3 separate regions of the Homo sapiens genome follow, and regions 2 and 3 are each linked to region 1. The links are contacts of gene promoters, found by promoter capture Hi-C in blood cells and fetal thymus (Javierre and others, 2016). All regions are on one chromosome and are shown on one strand. Each heading gives the region's core, a stretch centred on a gene start or on the middle of the fragment in contact. The rest is flanking DNA. Distances are from core to core; before and after follow the strand shown. Region 1 holds the start of VSIG10L (V-set and immunoglobulin domain containing 10 like). Region 2 has its middle 5.2 kb from the start of CTU1. Region 3 has its middle 18 kb from the start of SIGLEC6.

Region 1 (3,076 bases), core at 359-2,858:
AGCAGCTGGTCGCCCTCTGAGCGCATCCGGGGCGTCTCGGCTCCCTCCGATTCCGCCGCCTCCAGGGCGCGTCCGTCCCGGCTCCAGCTCAGCTCCCCGCGACCTGGCCCCCACCCCAGGCAGCGCAGCCGGAGCTCGGCCGCCCCCTCCTCTGTCTCTGGAGCCTTGGGCTGAACCGACAGCTGGGGTAGGGGCTCTGGGAGAGGGAGAATGGGCTCAGGACCCACCCAGTCCTGGAGCCCATCTTTGGTCCCCTTAGAGGGAACCCCAGCCGCTGCTCCCTCTAAGCCCCTGGAGTCTCAGCCCCCATCCCTCTCCTCTCATAAACCTATGAGTTTGAGCCCCCAGACACCTCCTCTCCGGGACCCAGGAGTTCGCCAGAAGAGGCTCCTAGCCTCCTCCTCCTCCCTCAGACCTGGGAGTTCAGGCTCCCAGGAGTCTCCATCCCAGGTCCACCTTTGCTCAGACACCCCTGCCTTGACCTCTAGCTCTTTTTCTCCCTTCCTCAACCCAGAAGTCCTCTTCTCCTATCCAGGGACCCCACAGCACCGTGACTTGCCCAAAGCCTGGCAGAGCAGAGCAGCCCCTGCCGCCTGCACGCCGGACGCCAGGGCCCACTTACCATACACACCCACCGTGAACTCGTGAGTCTGCTGGGAGACCCCTGCCCGGATGACCTCAGCCGTGTAGACCCCTGCATCGTCCAGCTGGGCAGAGGCGAGCTCCAGAACCCCCCGGGCCTGGTCAAATCGCAGGTGGTCTCGGTGAGCAGGGTCCAGGCTGATCAGAGGTGCCCCTGGCCCCAGGCCCCCAGCTGCCAGCACCTTTGAGCCCCGGCGCCAGACCACCAGAGAGGTGGGGGGCCCAGGGTTGGGGATTGGGACTAGGGGGAGCCGGATGGTGGTCCCCACCAGCACAGCGAGTGGGCCCCCCACCTGCTGGGGAAAGCTTGCAGCTGAGTGGGTCTCTGCAGAAAATTTGGATTCAGGGCTCTGGGCAGAGAGTTTAAGATCCATATCATCCGGGGAGAATTTTGAATCTGGGGCCTCAACAGACAGTTTGGTATGGGAGACTTGAGTAGAAATGTTTGAAGCTGGGGTCTTAACAGTGAAGGAAGGCTTGGGGTCTTTGGCAGGAACTTGAGGATCCGAAATATCAGGAAATACTTCAGAACCAGGGGTTTCAGAGAAGGGGGAAACCGGGCTCAAATCTTGGCCCTCAGCAGAAACATTTGACCAGAAGGACCCAGACATGTTGGAACTCAGGGCCTCAGGAAACCAGCTGGAATCAGAGATTCCAGCAGAGGCTTTTGAATCCAGGAACTGATCTGGAACTTTCCAGCTGGGAGGTTTGATGGAGGGAACTTCCACACCCAGCCCCTGGGAAGAGCTCTTTGAGTCTGAAGAGAAGGCAGAGGAGAAGTTGGTTTGCTGAAGTCCAGAAGAGGCTCTGAGGGTGAGGATCCCTACCAAGGAGGCTGCAGAGAAGAGAGGAAGGCATTGGGGGAGGCTGCTGAGGGAGACTGACAGGGAAGGGACTGAGCAGGGAACTTACCCAGGAGTAGGAAGAGTGGCAGAGCCTGTGGGTTGTCCATGGTGCTGGCCTCACTGAAAGGACACTGGAGAGAGACCCAGGACTGCACCCATCCCTCCCGGGTCAGACGAGTCCAACAGGACTGGTAGCTTAGCTTCCTGGGAGGGGAAGGGAGCCAGACCCAGAGGGAGGTGCCAAGATCCTCAACCCCAGTGTGGTGGCTGAGCTGCCCACCTCATCCCACTCTCTTCATTAGCTGGTCCCATCTGCAGAGAGGCCCAGCCTGATCCCTGCCCTCCCCACCCCCAGGGGGAAGCTGGAGAAAACATTCCCAGCTAAAAATGTGGGAGCAAATTTGTGAGACAAAGCCAGGAAGACTTCCTGGAGGAGGGTGAGGTGACCTTTCCGAGAGCCCCACCTCTGATGGCCACAGCTTCAGAGCAGGCTTCCTCCTCCCCAGCCTCCTGGCTCCTTCCACTCTGTCTTGCCTGCAGCCTCAGATACATCTGACCCTGCTCCTCCTCTGCTCCAAACCCTCCCACGGCTCTCTGTTGCCCTCAGAACCAAGTCTCCAGGTGCTATCTCCTGCCAGGGCCTCTATCCTGAGACCAGAGCTGCATTTCCGCATCCCCGAGGCCCTCACATGGCCTGTGTCCCGCTAAACTCAGACTCTTTCCTCTAACCCAAACTTCCTCACACCTCCAGGATGGCTTCACTGTCTTCGCAAATGCTGGAGAACATTCCCACCTCCTCCCTCCCTGTCACCACTGTCGATCTGAGTCCAACCCTCCTCCCCCTAGTTCTCACTGGCCAGGCTCTGTCTTCTCTTCCTGCCCCGTCTCCCTCCTCTGCCCAGTCTCCTCCATTCCCTGCCAGGGTCCTTCTATACCCAGAGCTGAACCTGCCTCCCCCTGCTCACAGCCCTCCCCTGGCTCCCCAGTGCCCTCTGGAGACATCCAAGGTTCAAAGCAAACTCATGCACAGCCCCCACTCAAGCACTTGAACATCCTGCCATTCTTATCCTGCCCGCCCATCTCACCTCCCAGTCCTCTACCTGGAATGCTCTCTCCCACTCTCCACCTCCCTCCAACCTGGCTAAACCACAACTTGTCCTTCAGGTCTCACCTTATTAAGAACCATAATTACCACTTAATTTGAGCCAGGAACTACGCTAAATGTTTCCTATGCACTATCAGGCTGAACACTTCTAAACACCCTATAAGCTGAGTGTCATTATACTCACTTTGCAGGCCAGGGGACTTAGGCTCAGAGAGGTCAAGGGACCTGCAGGAGGTTGCACAGCCAGAGGGAGAAGCTGGACTTGGGACCAGGATGGTCAGACCATTGACTCCTTCTGATAGCTTTTCCCACCATCCCATGTGGAGCTTAGGGCCTCTGCTCAGCTCCCAGTCCTCTAAGCTTACCCTGGCCCAGTTCTCACCAGTAATAATACTGGTAATATATATATATTTTGAGATGGAGTCTCGTTCTGTCACCCAGTGAGTGCCTCAGCTCACTGCAGGCTCCATCTCCCGGGTTCAAG
Region 2 (3,076 bases), core at 354-2,853, 230 kb before region 1:
TCTTCGCCTTCCAGCTTCAAGCAATTCTCGTGCTTCAGCCTCCGGAGTAGCTGGGATTACAGGTGTCTACCACCATGCCCAACTAATTTTTTTATTTTTAGTAGAGACACAGTTTCACTGTGTTAGCCAGGCTGGTCTTGAACTCCTGACCTCAAGTGATCTGCCTACCTCGGCCTCCCAAAGTCCCAGGATTACAGATGTGAGCCACTGCGCCGGCCGTTTCTTGCCTGGACTCTCTCACCCCAACCTCTAATCCCTTCATTCCTGAATCCTCCCACACTAGCCCCAGATTTAACCTTGTCTCTCCCCTTCTCGAAACTCTTCCATGGCTCCCCATTGCCATCAGGCTTTCCATTGTCAAACCTCTGCAGACTGCAACGGAGGTGCTGCATGATCTGGTCCCTGCACACCCTTCCAGCCTCAGAATGCCTTGCCATCTCCAGGTCATCTAGCTGCCATCCTAAGCAATCCGCGTCTGGTGGAAGATATGGTGGCTGGGCTCAGCTGTCTCTCTCCAGCTCTGGGAGCTTTGGTTCCTGCAGCATCAATGTGCATCTCTGAGGGCCATTTCCTATATCTGGTGCTTGTTACTGGCAGCACTTGCTTCCCCACCCCTCGAAGGGCTAGAAGCTTCCCTGGGTAGAATTTCTGCATGAAGAGAGTTCGTTCACCCGTGGAGCCTACTGAGGAACGGGATTTTTGTCTGTGGTTGGTTGGTTTGTCTGTTTTCATTGTAGTGTATCAAACAGTCCTTATTTTGCCCTAAGTCCAGCTCTGTCCCACTGCCTTCTTGTTAGTTTTTGCATCTCCTTACTAAATGGTAGGTCTGCCTGGGTTCCCACAGCAGTGCTAATAAACTTTGTTGGCCAGAGGAGGCACCAGGAAAGACTCTCTGTTGGCAACACTCTCTGAAGGGCCCTCTGTTTCTCTTTGGCCTTGTCTCTCGTTCTCCTCATCCCAGGAGCCTTTTATGTGAGTTTCCACAGCTCCTCCTCGCACCCTCTCTTCTCTCTGCACTTCTCGTGGCTCCCCCCGATGTCTTGCACACCATGCTGTTCATCCCAATCTGCTCTGAGCCCCAGACAACCACATTTCCCCCCTTCTCAGTGATGGAACCATCATCATTATCCAAATTAGGATTCTAGGAGTCAGATAGATATTTCTCTATCACCTACCATATCCTGTTTGCAAGATGTCTTGCAAACTTCCCTTCCTGGAATAGGCTCACTTCACTCCCCCTTCAACATCCCCATGGCCTCTGCTCCTAGTCATTTCATCCTCTTCCTCTTCTGCTCAGACCTCCACTCTGTTTTCCTCTCCAACTTCTTGGCCTCCACTCTCCTCCTCTCCCTAAAGTCTCCCTCACATCACCCCAGAGGGATACCTTCTCCCACCAAGAGCTGACTCTGCCCCTCCCCCTTGCTCTTAATCCTTCCATGGCTCCCCAGTGCCCTCAATATAAAGTCAAGACTTTTTTTGATATGTAAGCCTGCAAGATACGGCTTGCAACTATTCTTCCAGAGTCATCATGCCTTGATACCTACCTCTGGGGTCATTTAGCTGACTACCTGCCCCACATTTGGACGTCTCTGAACATTTGTCACCTGGTAGCCCAATCCTTAAGAGGGGAGAAACAGGCCTGCCAGTCTTGCCCTTCCCCTTTATCTGTTTGTGCTCAGCTCTGGGGCCCTGGAAAATGCTCCTCACTCCTCATTCCCAGGGCAAGTCTCCATCTAACATGTAGTAATAGGTGAAGACATTTTTGTCTATTTTGTTCAACAAGAATCATACCTGACATATAATAAACTCTCAATATATGTATTCAAAAATTAAAAAATAAAGCTGTTACTTGTGAAATCTCTGCCTGTAGCCCAGGTCTTTGTTCTGACCCCAGCACCCTCCTAATGGCCCCGTTGTCTGTGAAGGCATTTTCAATGCTCTCCACTGTGCTAGATGGTGAGCCCATAGGGACAGAAATTGGGTTTGTTCTGACTCCTAGAGTGACTTGGTAAATATTGTTGATATAGGATAAGGCTCAGAGAAACCTCTGTCTCAGTTTGATAGGACCCCGAGAAACAAAACTGGCAAGTTGGAGAATCTAGCTCCTTTACAGCCAGCAGCAAGTGAGGCTACTCTTTGTCCTGGAGGGAGACATTACCCCATCCCTCAGGGTGGCTCCCTGCAAACACAACCTGAGAACTAGGCCAGGTAACGAGATCTCAGACCATCATGTTTTGGGCAATACCCAACGAGATGTGTAGGAGGACGGGAGGCTCATGGAGATCTGTCCTTCCCAACAGGCTGCCCTACTCTTCTTAGATGATGTGGGAAACTGCAAAATCCTCTCATCAAATTCTCTTTTACCAGCATACACAAAGATTCCATCACTTGTGATCGACGTCTTAGTCAGTAAGTCTGGACCATTTTGACTGGTTTCCAGTCAGAAAACCAGGAGGATGTGGTGAACAGAGAAACCCCAGTACTCACATTTCACTATTCTTTGCTTTCTCTCTTCATGCTTTGTTTGAAGAAGTTGCAAAATGAGATGACTGGAAGAAAGGGACATGATAGCTAAATAAAGCTTCCTTTTCTTGGTCAGGCACTATAAATCTATTGCACTTTCTCCTGTCTAACAGAAGTCAAACTTTTCTTTTTTTTGAGATGGAGTTTCACTCTTGTTGCCCAGGCTGGAGTGCAATGGTACCATCTCAGCTCACTGCAACCTCTGCCTCCTGGGTTCAAGCGATTCTCCTGCCTCAGCCTCCTGAGTAGCTGGGATTACAGGCGCCCGCCACCACACCCAGCTGATTTTTGTATTTTTAATAGAGACGGGGTTTTACCATGTTGGCCAGGCTAGTCTCGAACTCCTGACCTCAGGTGATCCGCCTGGCTTGCCCTCTCAAAGTGCTAGGATTACAGGCATGAGCCACAACACCTGACCTTACTATTGTAAGTATTAGTTCTAAAAACTGGCGGCCCCTCCTCTGAGTCCCTGTCACTCCAGTTCTCAATCTCTCTCCATATGGCTCAATGCTCTCCTGGAATCATTGTCCCTTCAGGTCCCCATTAGGATCTT
Region 3 (3,076 bases), core at 317-2,816, 210 kb after region 1:
AGAAAGTGGACTTTGCAGGGTTGGTGGTGGTGCATGACAGAGCAGGAGCACCATCATCTCAGACTAACACTGCCACTTTAAGTTCCAGCTCCCTTTCTAGCCTCGTGCATTTCAAGGAAATCACTTATCTTCTGACAACAAGCAGCCGGAAAGAGCAGACAGTGAAACACAGATAAGACAGCTCAGGCATAAAGGGATGTCTGAGGGGGAAAAGTCTCCTGGGTAACCACCAAACTTCACACTCATACAATGGGCCCCAGTAAAACAGTGGGCCCTAATAAACACATTCCTTCCCCTTTAGGTACACTAAGATAGGGAAGCTAAAAGCAGACTCAGGGGGTATGCCTGCAGCTGCAGGAAGACGTATGGGATTAGACACAAAACTCTCCCTCCCAGGTAAGCAAGACAAAGAGACACAGAAACATTCTGAGCCTGTGATAAGCTGTACCGCCCTGAATCCTTAAAAACTCTTAGTCGGTAAAAGAGAGTGCCTCTGACCTAACTCAGCCAGAAGCCCTTCTCAGGTTTAGTCTCCAAAATAAACCTATCTTTAACTGTTCAGCTGTTTTTTGTGTTTCCTTCTTCTTTCTTTAATTCTTATAATGCGTGAGAGAGGGGAGCATCTGCAGTGGCTCCCAGAGCCCCGACTCAAGCAGCAGGGACTTGGGGGTGTCATGGCAGAGAGCTGGTGAGATGAACCGTCAGGGCTTGGGGGCAGGTCTGGGCTGGAGAGGGAGGGGTAGGGAGTTTCACAAAGCCTACTGGGGTTGTACTCAGGGGAGGTGGATGTGTTCACCAAGGGGAAACAGAAGGCCCCAGTGGGAGGGGTGGGGAACACACAATCTTAAGCTTAATTGTGGGCTGGGGAATGGCTGAGATGGCCTGGCCAGGGAGGTAGGAGGAGAAGGAGCTGCACATTGGTGACAGCAGTGGTGAGAATTTTATCAGGGATGGGTGGGAGGGGCAGACTGCAGGGGGCAGCGGGGTGAGGGGGAGTGGGACTCATTGGGATGTCTTCAGTCCTCTCCTGTCGGAGCTCTGGGCCTCCACTTCTGTCCTGAGCAAGCAGCAAGCCCACCTTCATCACGACCCCAGAGGGAAGGTTTTTTTCCTACCTGTACCATTTCCTTGGGTGGGGCCAATAGCCAGATTCTGTGGAGAATCTGGCATCTGGCATCTGGAATGGAGAAAGCCACCATTTTCTACCACCATGCGGAGGAGTATGGCTGCTCTGCCTCTTTGGCTAAATCCATGGAAAGCTGCTGAGGTGGGGACTGCTGTGATTTCTCCTCCCTTCTCCAGTCGAGCTCCTGACCAGGCGTTGAATCTCTCAGGCCCTGAACCCTTCCTGTCCATCCTGGCAGCCCTCAGCCACCCAGGTGTCCTGGCCAACATCCAAGGGGGATGCTGAGCCTGGTGGTATGAGGAGCTCAGCTGGGCTGTGAGAGAGAGCTGTGCTTCAAGGTGGCAGGATCACCGATTAAAGCAACAATAGACCAAACTGAAAGAATGAATCAAGCCTTTAATCACAGACAGCAGTGATAGAGGCAAGAGTCTAAACCAGAGAATGCACCAACTCTTCTTGTTTCATTTCCTGCCACCCCTCTGGAACAGTGCACACTGCTGGAGGGTCAGGTGGCTCATGGATCAACACAGACATAGGGGTCGGGGTCCTCTCACTGAGGAGGGAGCCCTGAACAAAAGGCTCAGGCAGTTCCACAGACCCTGGGAAGGGTGGGGGCATGAGAAGGGCTAGGAGTGGAAAAGAACTGAGTACTGAGTCAGAGTGGGGAAACGTGTCTTCAAGGTTCCTCCTCCTGCCCCCCGCAAGGTGGTCTCAGCAGAGGCATCTGTGGAAGACCTCTGTCCAAGGCCTCAGAAAACGAGGCCTAGAAATAAATGTAACTGGGATAGAAATGCAAATATGCATAGCGCATGACTGGCCAGAAAGGTGGGGTCCTTGACCACAACCGAGTGTGAAGAGGGTGGAGTCTCCCAGTGAGGCCTGCCAGGAAAAGCCTTTGCAACTGCCTGTGATCGAACCTGAAAAGCCACACCTAGGTTTTTAACCATGTGCTGGACTCCTCAGATAGTTCTACCCATGGATCTACCGCTTCCTAGGAAGGTCACCTGGCATGGAGGCCTGATGCCACAATCTTGGACCCTAGGATACAGGGGTACACTGAGGACTTGAAGCGGGGGCTTCAGAACCCCAGGAAGAGAGGTGCATCTTCCTTCACAAGCCCCTGGCATGGTGCTGTTTAGACTCCAAGATGGCTGGCTTTAAGCTTAAAGGGATATAAATTATGGGTATCTGATACAAGCTACAGAGGAGGAGAAACTCAGAGGGGAGACCCCAGAGTGTCAGCCTGGGGTTGGCCTCCCCTGCCCTCAGCCCCAGGATCCTGCACCTCTCCCTTACTCTCCAGATAAGAAACAGGTATGTTCCTGCCTCTGGGGCTCTCTCCTGGGGACCCTTCTCTACTGGTCACAGTCAGAGGCAGTGTCATTCATTGGGAGCTATATTTCATGTGATATCTCTGACCTAGAGATGTGTTCCTACTTTCCTGCATCTGGAACATCTGATGCTCTGAGAGCAACTGTGGGTCCTTGGGTCTCTGAGGAGGTTAGCTTTGCCCCAGGTCCTCTCTTCCAGGTTTTTCTTTTCTTTTCTTTTCTTTCTTTCTTTTTTTTTTTTTTTTTTTTTTTTTTGAGATGGAGTCTCGCTCTGTCACCCAGGCTGGGGTGCAGTGGCACAATCTCGGCTCACTGCAACTTCCACCTCCCAGGTTCAAGCGATTCTCCTGCCTTGGCCTCCCTAGTAGCTGGGATTACAGGCACCTGCCTCTACACCTGGCTAATTTTTGTATTTTTAGTAGAGATGGAGTTTCACCATGTTGGCCAGGCTGGTCTAGAACTGCTGACCTCAGGTGATCCACCCACCTCGGCCTCCCAAAGTGCTAGGATTACAGGCATGAGCCACTGCGCCCAGCCTTCTTCCAAGTTTTGACAGGGCTTATTTGTGGCCACAGGGGGATTATGGTGTCTGTGGGCCCCCTCTGGGATCCAAAGGTGG

The links. The method cuts DNA at HindIII sites, captures the fragments that hold promoters and counts their contacts. A CHiCAGO score of 5 or more calls a contact.
Region 2: a fragment that was not itself captured here is called in contact with the fragment with the promoter of VSIG10L in region 1 in 1 of 17 cell types (fetal thymus); the score reaches 5.0 in fetal thymus.
Region 3: a fragment that was not itself captured here is called in contact with the fragment with the promoter of VSIG10L in region 1 in 1 of 17 cell types (total B cells); the score reaches 5.8 in total B cells.

The regions. Positions count from the first base shown.
Region 1 is chr19:51,340,531-51,343,606 of GRCh38, forward strand. It overlaps VSIG10L (V-set and immunoglobulin domain containing 10 like), which reads right to left and starts at 1,609. Exons shown (of 10, transcript NM_001163922.3): 1 at 1,555-1,609; 2 at 623-1,477; 3 at 1-196. The coding sequence starts at 1,594. VSIG10L-AS1 (VSIG10L antisense RNA 1) reads left to right here. Exons shown (of 5, transcript NR_186316.1): 1 at 1-187; 2 at 536-644; 3 at 1,320-1,455. The HindIII fragment of the contact is 2,004 bases long and covers 947-2,950 here.
Region 2 is chr19:51,112,069-51,115,144 of GRCh38, forward strand. No RefSeq gene overlaps it. Among named protein-coding and RNA genes, the nearest start is that of CTU1, 5.2 kb to the left of the region's middle. The HindIII fragment of the contact is 1,951 bases long and covers 629-2,579 here.
Region 3 is chr19:51,547,766-51,550,841 of GRCh38, forward strand. No RefSeq gene overlaps it. Among named protein-coding and RNA genes, the nearest start is that of SIGLEC6, 18 kb to the left of the region's middle. The HindIII fragment of the contact is 1,439 bases long and covers 848-2,286 here.